Regions from separate parts of the Homo sapiens genome. Here regions 1 and 3 are each linked to region 2. The links are contacts of gene promoters, found by promoter capture Hi-C in blood cells and fetal thymus (Javierre and others, 2016). All regions are on one chromosome and are shown on one strand. Each heading gives the region's core, a stretch centred on a gene start or on the middle of the fragment in contact. The rest is flanking DNA. Distances are from core to core; before and after follow the strand shown. Region 1 overlaps TFCP2 (transcription factor CP2). Region 2 holds the start of CELA1 (chymotrypsin like elastase 1). Region 3 overlaps TFCP2 (transcription factor CP2).

Region 1 (2,717 bases), core at 185-2,684, 230 kb before region 2:
ACCATTCTCCTGCCTCAGCCTCCTGGGTAGCTGGGACTACAGGCGCCCGCCACCACGCCCAGCTAATTTCTTTGTATTTTGAGTGGAGACGGGGTTTCACCATGTTAGCCAGGATGGTCTCGATTTCCTGACCTCATGTTCTGCCCACCTTGGCCTCCCAAAGTTTTGGGATTACAGGCGTGAGCCATCGCGCCCGGCCGAAATTGGAACCTTTGAGTACCGCTGGTAGAAATGTAAAATGTGTAGTCACTGTGGAAAACAATATAGTGGTTTCTAAAAAAAATCTAAGATAGAGTTACCATATGACCCAGCAATTCCATTTCTGGATATGTATCCAAAAGAATTAAAAGCAGAGACTCAAACACATATTTGTACATCCATGTTCATAGCAGCATTATTCACAATAGCCAGGAAATGGAATCAAATTAAGTGCCTATCATGGGATGAATGGATAAACAAAGTGTGATATATACACACAATGGAGTATTATTCAGCCTTGCATGGGAAGGAAATGCTAATGTATGCTATACCATGAACCTTGAAAACATTATGCTAAGTGAAAAATGCCAGTCACAAAAGGACAAATACTGTATGATTTCATTTATGCAGTACTTAGTAGTCCAATTCATAGAGACAGAAAGGAGAATAGTGGTTACCAGGGGCTGTGAAGAAGGGAGAATGGGGAGTTGTTGTTTAACAGGTACAGACTTCTGGTTTTGCAGATGAGAAAAGTTCTGGAGATGGATGATAGTGATGGTTACACAATAATGTGAATGTACCTAATGTTACTGAACTATCCACTTAAAAATGGTTAAAATGATAACTTTTATGTAATGTATATTTTACCACAACTTAAAAAACAACAAAATCAACCTATAGTTGCTATGGAACTAAAGTGTTTACACTTCCAACTTCAATTTTGATATCATTTTAACTTGTATTACTTAAAATTTTTTATGCTTAGTAAATAATTTCAAGGTTTATACTAATTGAGCCTCTCAAGCATATGAATCAAGGTAAATGTCAAATAAAGAAAACCAACTCTGGGTCCATAGCTAAAGGCATTTCCTAGGCAATAGATTCTCTTAACTCACCTATGTCAAGAATTCTGTCTCCAGGTCGGTTCCACCTCCAGCCCTCTAGCTGCTGATGCTCAGTGTACTGAAGCCTTCTGTCATGGAACACCACACGGAATATACTCTAAAAGGATACAACAAAATCAGATGATAACAAGACCTCTTGAAAATCAGTGCTGACAAAGAAAAACTAGCAGGATTCACTGCCAGTTTGTTTCTAAACGCAATCTAAAATTATTTTTCTTAAGATCTGTTTCACTCTAAAACCCATACCATACTAAGTGCTATTTCAGGATAAAATTTTATAATTTCTCAGATATAATCTTTTTTTTTTTTTTTGAAACAGATTTTGCTCTTGTTGCCCAGGTTGGAGTGCAATGGTGTGATCTCGGCTCACCGCAACCTCCACCTCCCGGGTTCAAGGAATTCTCCTGCCTCAGCCTCCTGAGTAGCTGGGATTACAGGCATGTGCTACCACGCCTGACTAATTTTGTATTTTTTGTAGAGACAGGGTTTCTCCATGTTGGTCAGGCTGGTCTCAAACTCCCAACCTCAGGCGACCCGCCCGCCTCAGCCTCTCAAAGTGCTGGGACTATAGGCGTGAGCCACCGGGTCCAGCCAATTTCTCAGATAGAATCTTTATAGTTAACTGGTACCATATTTAAAACTTGGCTTAAACTTCAGTCCGATGGTAACTAGGAATAAAGTACTCCTGTCTGAAGCGTTTCTGCACACCTCTTCTGTTATACCACGGCCTATCTGGCTTAGCTCTTCAGATGTATATGAAAAACTCACCAACTCCCCCGCTTGCTAACCCACCATACAACCTGTAAACACTGAGGGTAGGTAGAGCCTGTTTCCATCAACTTTCCTTTTGTTACTCTTACTTTGTAGAAGTGCCTATTAATTCCTCCCACCACCTTTTGACAAAACTCCTCTGTTTCAACTGTGCTGTGAATTATCAAAATCCTAACTGTTAATCTAGACTAAGAGAACTGCTCTTCATCAAAGTAGCTTCTGTTTTCCTTGCTATAAGACTAAGTATCAAAAAAGACACTGAGGCTTCTCTAAAGATCTCAAGGAGGTTACTTTACTCCACCCAAAAGAACTTCACTGAGCCAGGGGTGATTACCCTGGACAGGGAGTGGTAAGCGTTCTATTTCTGCAGCTCTGAAAAATTCATGTGAATACTGGGGCTTACTCTGACCCCAAAGAAATAACACATCAGCTTACTACTCTGCCAACAAATTACTGCAGGCAAGAGATACCATTAAGCCATTGGAAGCAAAAGAACATTAACAACAACAACAAAATTTAAAATCCCAAAAGGATTAGTAAAAAATATTGTACAGAAGAATGATTTATTCGTTTTACCTTCACCAATTTGCCATTAATTTCTGGAAGTTCTCCAAGTTTCCTATTGTCTAGCATTCGAATTTCATAAGACTGTCCTAGAAGAAAAAGTAATTACATATTATATTCACCACAAATTAACTTTGCTAGATTCGGAAAGAATAAAATTCAGTTGGTTGAATATACAACAGTATAATAATATTATTAGTATTAGTAACAACAATCAGAAGCCTTTACAAGATGCTCAGCACTGTGCTAAGTATTGTCACATTATCTCATTTAACTGAT
Region 2 (2,722 bases), core at 129-2,628:
CAGGTTTACATATTTAGATCACTTAAATCAGGGCCCAGCTGCCCTGTTAGCAAAGTGGAAACTCTAAATAGCCAACTAAGCAGCATGCTGTACGTGTGTGTGTGTGTGTGTGCGCGCACATGCGTGCAAGCATTGTGACACACACAGTGTGGAGTGGTGTGCGTGTGAGTTTCAAGGTATGTGGAGTCCAAGGTGACTGTCTGGCACCCAGTCTTTCTTGCGTGGCACAAGTGCTGTCGCTGAGAATATAAATGTATCTTGTGTTTGGGTGTGTGCCTTGAAGAGGGACTGTGGTTGGTGTATAAATCCCCTCCTCCAAGCCTTTTGCATTTAGAAAACCACCTAAGCCTGATCCCATCCATCTTTAAAATCGAGAACCTAGACAATTGGAGAGCTGCTTGTTGATAGGGACATGCACAAATACACATGATACCTTATGTCATGCACTGAGCTCTTATTTGGGTGGAAGTCTGGGGCTGGGAAGGAACACCCACCTGAGAGGGCCAGGAATTCCTCCCGGCCTCAGTCCCTCCGACTACGCGGGCATTGGTTTCCGGAAGGTCCTGGGTGCTGTGTCCTTTGTGGGGCAGAAGAAAAGTGAGTGATGACTAAGCATGGGGTCAGCCAGGGGTAGGGGTGGGGGGTGGCGATTGTGCTTTGAGGAATGTTAGCCTTGTCTGCAAATTCACAGTTCCTCTCTAACGAATGAGGGGCCCAGCTGTGAGTTCTCTGAGCCCCTTTTGAAAACAGGGGTGCCTGGGTGCCTTCTGTTTCCCCCAGGTGTTCCCAGAACTCCGGCATGCTATGAAGGACCTCTCTCAAACCACCAGGCTAGGCCCCAGAGGCTCCTTGTGGTCTCCTCTTTGCTCAAGATCACCCTTTGGCCTGAAGAGACCCCCCCCCACTCTTTGACCCCCACCAGCCCCCTAATGCTTTGGCAAGATTCTCCAGGGTTCAGGGCCTGCAGTGCACACCCCAGCCAGGCACCTGCTGAGGAAGTCCTCCTGTCAATGGGGGTGGTGGGGAAGCCCAGGGACCCACCCCACTACCAGATGGGGCTTCTCTCTGCTTTGTGGCCCAGGGACCTGCCACCCAGAGGGGCCTGAATAGCCAGTGGCCCTGACCTTTTCTATCTTGGCCTCCAGGAGAGTAAAGGACGCTCTGCAGGCAGAGCGTCCCACCTGCCCTGGGACAGGGTGCTGGCCTGGACTTAGGGAAAATTTGCTGACCTTCCTGCCCAAGTCCCCCTCCCTATAGACCTCAGGCCACATGATCCACTTACCATAAAGGACCAGGGTTGCGACTGGACCATATCCACTTACCATAAAGGACCAGCATGTTGCCGATGGAGTAGACCACTGCCTTCTTGCTTGGACCAAGCCCTCTTTATACTCCTCTTAGCAGCAAAGCTGACTGTCTTCTTGCCAACTGGCAGGGCTGAGGGTGCAAGGCAGGGAAAATCACAAGTGACATGGAAATACAAATGAAAATATTTCTTTTCAAGTAAACTAATGTATCTGTTATTCAAAGACAGAACAAGGCCAGGGCTGAATTAATCATCTGCTTTTAATTGAAAAGCATCCAACAAACTCTTTTTCAGAAATAAGATGGAGAACCAGGGCTGGTTTTTCTCTAAGGGAGCACCCCTTGTCATCCATCACTCTCTCGTTGTCCTCAGTGGCACCATAAATGCAGAGACTTGCCCTGTGCACTAGCAGCTGGAGGCCAGGGGGATAGTGGAAGAGGGGGGAGTGGTTAGCAAGGGCAAGGAAGACACAGCAACTCTCTCTGCCCAAAGAGGGAGATGGCACATGCCCCCAGGATGCAGGCATAGGTGTAAATGCAGACACAAAAGCCAAATAGATGCAGTGGAGATAATTCTGGGGGAGGAAAGTACTGAGAAACAGGCTTGGGCCCTCTCAGATGGAGAGCCAAGAAGGGGCTCCCAGAGGAGAATATGAGGCAGGGTAGAGGAGGGGATCCTTGGGATGTGAAGACAGTCTGAGGGCTATGAGGGTAGATGGAGGGTGGAGGGCAGAGGGAGAACGAGGGTAGGAGCCGAGGTTCCTGCAGGAGATGAAAGGCTTTGTTCATCACAGTTCGTAGAGGAGAGAGAAGGGAGTTGCGGCCGGGCGCGGTGGTTTACGCCTGTAATCCCAGCACTTTGGGAGGCTGAGGCGGGCGGATCACAAGATCAAGAGATCGAGACCATCCTGGCCAACATGGCGAAACCCCGTCTACTAAAAATACAAAAATTGGCCGGGCGCGGTGGCTCATGCCTGTAATCCCAGCACTTTGGGAGTCGGAGGCGGGCGGATCACGAGGTCAGGAGATTGAGACTACTCTGGCTAACACAGTGAAACCCCGTCTCTACTAAAAAAATACAAAAAATTAGCTGGGCGTGGTGGCAGGCGCCTGTAGTCCCAGCTCCTCGGGAGGCGCAGGCAGGAGAATGGCGTGAGCCCGGGAGGCGGAGCTTGCAGTGAGCCGAGATCGCGCCACTGCACTCCAACCTGGGCGACAGAGCGAGACTCCATCTAAAAAAAAACAAAAACAAAATACAAAAATTAGCTGGGCATGGTGGTGCGCTTCTGCAGTCCCAGCTAATCTGGAGGCTGAGGCAGGAGAATCGCTTCAACCTGGGAAGCGGAGGTTGCTGCACTCCAGCCTGGAGACAGAGCAAGACTCTGTCTCAAAATAAATAAATAAATAAATAAATAAA
Region 3 (2,839 bases), core at 162-2,661, 210 kb before region 2:
CAGTTTAGATCACTTGCGAGATACCAGATGTACATTTCATTATGTACATCTCAAAGTTTACCAAAAAATGGAGCTGATTTCCCTTTTTTTGCCTCAAGTCTTTCAGTCTCTCACATTTCCACTCTGCTGAATTATTTGCCAACTACCAATTATTTATACCTACCAGAAATGTGCTTTTATTTTCCTTTAGCTTATAAAGTCACTAAACACATCTAATTTTTGCTAACCTTATTTATTTTGGAAGCTGAAAAGTATCTGTGTCAGATACAAATTTACTTCCAGGGAGCTTGTAAGATATTAAAAGTTTAATCAAAGAAATCTGAATCAGCAAAGCCCTACCTCAGGAGATTTACTAGATATAGGCCTACCTTCTTAGTTTTTTTCATACATTATAGGATTAGCATTTACCAGCCTACAGATCTCATTAAAACACTGCTAATTGAAAACATCACCTGTGGCATCATTAGTACTAGGCTCTTTTATTAAATTTCTGAAATCACTGACTCTTTCCAGTTAGGCAAAAAATGGCAACTCGCAGCAATATTCATAGGCTATATGTTGAAGGGAATCTGACTATTTTGATACAGAAAATAGAACTCCCATTTCAGTATTCAAAGATCAAATGTATATCATCATAGTATGGCATAACTGGGAAAACACCAACAGTTTTGTTTTGTTTTGTTTTCTTGGGACTAAGGGAATCCACACTTAGCCCTTTATAGTGCTGAGCCTCAAAGCTTCTTTTCCGATCCAAAATGTCTACCAGCTCATGCTTTCTTCCCTCTTGCAGTCAGGCTTCCATCTTCACTGGCAAGCATCACTATTACCTCTCTATACTTGAGAGTTCTTATGTCTTGCTCATCCTGTACTCCCTACCATGCCTGGCTTCAAAGTAGGACAATCTCTCTAGTCCCTCATTCCTCCCCTTAATGAAAGGCAAGCACAGACACTTTTCTGTGTATTTATTTATTTTCTATTTTTCTCTGTGTGTGTTTTGTTTGTTTGTTTTTTGAGATGGAGTAGCACTCTGTCGCCCAGGCTGTAGTGCAATGGCACTATCTCGGCTCACTACAACCTACGACTTCCACGTTCAAGTGATTCTCCCGCCTCGGCCTGTCGAGTAGCTGGGATTACAGGCGCACTCCTATAATCCCATGTAAACCATGCCTGGCTAATTTTTGTATTTTTAGTAGAAATGGGGTTTCACCACATTGGCCAAGCTGGTCTCAAACTCCTGGCCTTAAGTGATCCAACCGCCTCGGCCTCCCAAATTGTTGGGATTACAGGTGTGAACCACTGTGCCTGGCCTAGTTTTCTGTGTTTTAAGGCTTTAATTGCCGATGACTTTCAGGAAAATCCTGAAAGTACCAGAATAGTTAGTCCTATGAAATGGTAAATAGGCTCTAACCATCTCTCCTCTTTTATGCTAAAAGTGATAGGACTTACGAACATTTCTCCTCCTTCAGACCACATTTCTTTTTTCTTTTGAGACCAAGTTTCGCTCTGTTGCCCAGGCTGGAGTGCAATGGTGAGAGGCTGGAGTGCAATGGCATGATCTTGGCTCACCACAACATCCGCCTCCCGGGTCCAAGCGATTCTCCTGCCTCAGCCTCCTGAGTAGCTGGGATCACAGGTGTGCGCCACCACACCTGGCTAACTTTCTATTTTCACTAGAGACGGGGTTTCTCCATGTTGGTCAGGCTGTTCTCGAACTCCCAACCTCAGGTGATCCACCAGCCTCGGCCTCCCAAAGTGCTGGGATTACAGGTGTGAGCCACCATGCCCGGCCAGACCACATTTCTGATGAAGGAAGGCCTTTTCTTCTAAAATGGCCAGCAAATTCCCTAGAGATGTAACCAGTTAGACCTGATGATGCAATCAAAGCAGAAATGTTATTTGCCCCTTGTCTTTTATAGACAGAGAGTAAATTTGTATTTCTAAGGATATGCAGAGCAGAAGACACCCAGTTTACTAAGCCTCAACCCTCCTCAGGCATGATAACTAGCTTTTTATCATTATCCTCTAACCTGCAGCCAGAGTAACTTTTTAAAAAGGTAAATCTAGAAATGTCCCTTCTCTGTTTATAAAGCTTCAGTGGTTTCCCAACGCAATCATGATAAAGTGCTAACTCTTCAACATGGCTCCCAAAACTCTTCAAAACTGGGCCCAGTTTACCTTTTCAGTCTCATCTCTCACCATACTTCCCATCTCTCTTTTCCCTTTATCTACATATGTATAGTGAGACGGCGTCTTGCTCTGTTGCCCAGGCTGGAGAGCAGTGGCGTGATCATAGCTCACTGCAAGTCTCAAACTCCTGGGCCCAATCAATCCACCCACCTCAGCCTCAGCCTCCCAAGTAGCTAGGACTATAGGCACACACCACCACACCTGGCTCATCTTTTAATTTTTTGTACAGACAGGGCCTCACTATGTTGCCCAGACTGGTGCTGAACTCCTGGCCTCTCAGGATCCTCCTGCCTCAGCCTCCTAAAGTGCTGACATGACAGACAGGAGACACTGCACCTGGCCTCTTTGACTTTTTTAAAAGATTCAGCAGACAAACTGCAGTTCTTTCCCTTGCCCCCAGGCCTTGGGGTCCACCTGCTCTCTTCTACCTCAACTCAATTGCTATGATTCATTTTTTGCACATAAATTTCCATTTAATTCATACAATAATGCTGTGAGGTAGGAGGAATTGTCTCCTCCTCACCATTTTCCAACTGAAGGAACTGAGGCTACAGTAATTAGAAATGTTAAATGATGTGCCCAAGGTTACACAGCTATTAAATACTGGATTTACAAATGAGTTTATTCATTCATTCAATAAATACATTATGAA

Evidence for each region. The method cuts DNA at HindIII sites, captures the fragments that hold promoters and counts their contacts. A CHiCAGO score of 5 or more calls a contact.
Region 1: a contact is called between a fragment that was not itself captured here and the fragment with the promoter of CELA1 in region 2, in 4 of 17 cell types (M1 macrophages, naive CD4 T cells, activated CD4 T cells and 1 more). The highest score is 6.0, in M1 macrophages.
Region 3: a contact is called between a fragment that was not itself captured here and the fragment with the promoter of CELA1 in region 2, in 2 of 17 cell types (M1 macrophages and M2 macrophages). The highest score is 6.4, in M1 macrophages.

Annotation. Positions count from the first base shown.
Region 1 is chr12:51,115,221-51,117,937 of GRCh38, forward strand. TFCP2 (transcription factor CP2) reads right to left here. Exons shown (of 15, transcript NM_005653.5): 3 at 2,451-2,527; 4 at 1,095-1,200. Among named protein-coding and RNA genes, the nearest start is that of CSRNP2, 33 kb to the left of the region's middle. The HindIII fragment of the contact is 5,289 bases long and covers 1-2,717 here.
Region 2 is chr12:51,345,301-51,348,022 of GRCh38, forward strand. It overlaps CELA1 (chymotrypsin like elastase 1), which reads right to left and starts at 1,379. Exons shown (of 8, transcript NM_001971.6): 1 at 1,323-1,379; 2 at 495-577. The coding sequence starts at 1,338. The HindIII fragment of the contact is 4,543 bases long and covers 1-2,722 here.
Region 3 is chr12:51,137,149-51,139,987 of GRCh38, forward strand. All of the region lies in intron 1 of TFCP2 (transcription factor CP2), which reads right to left. Among named protein-coding and RNA genes, the nearest start is that of TFCP2, 35 kb to the right of the region's middle. The HindIII fragment of the contact is 1,352 bases long and covers 736-2,087 here.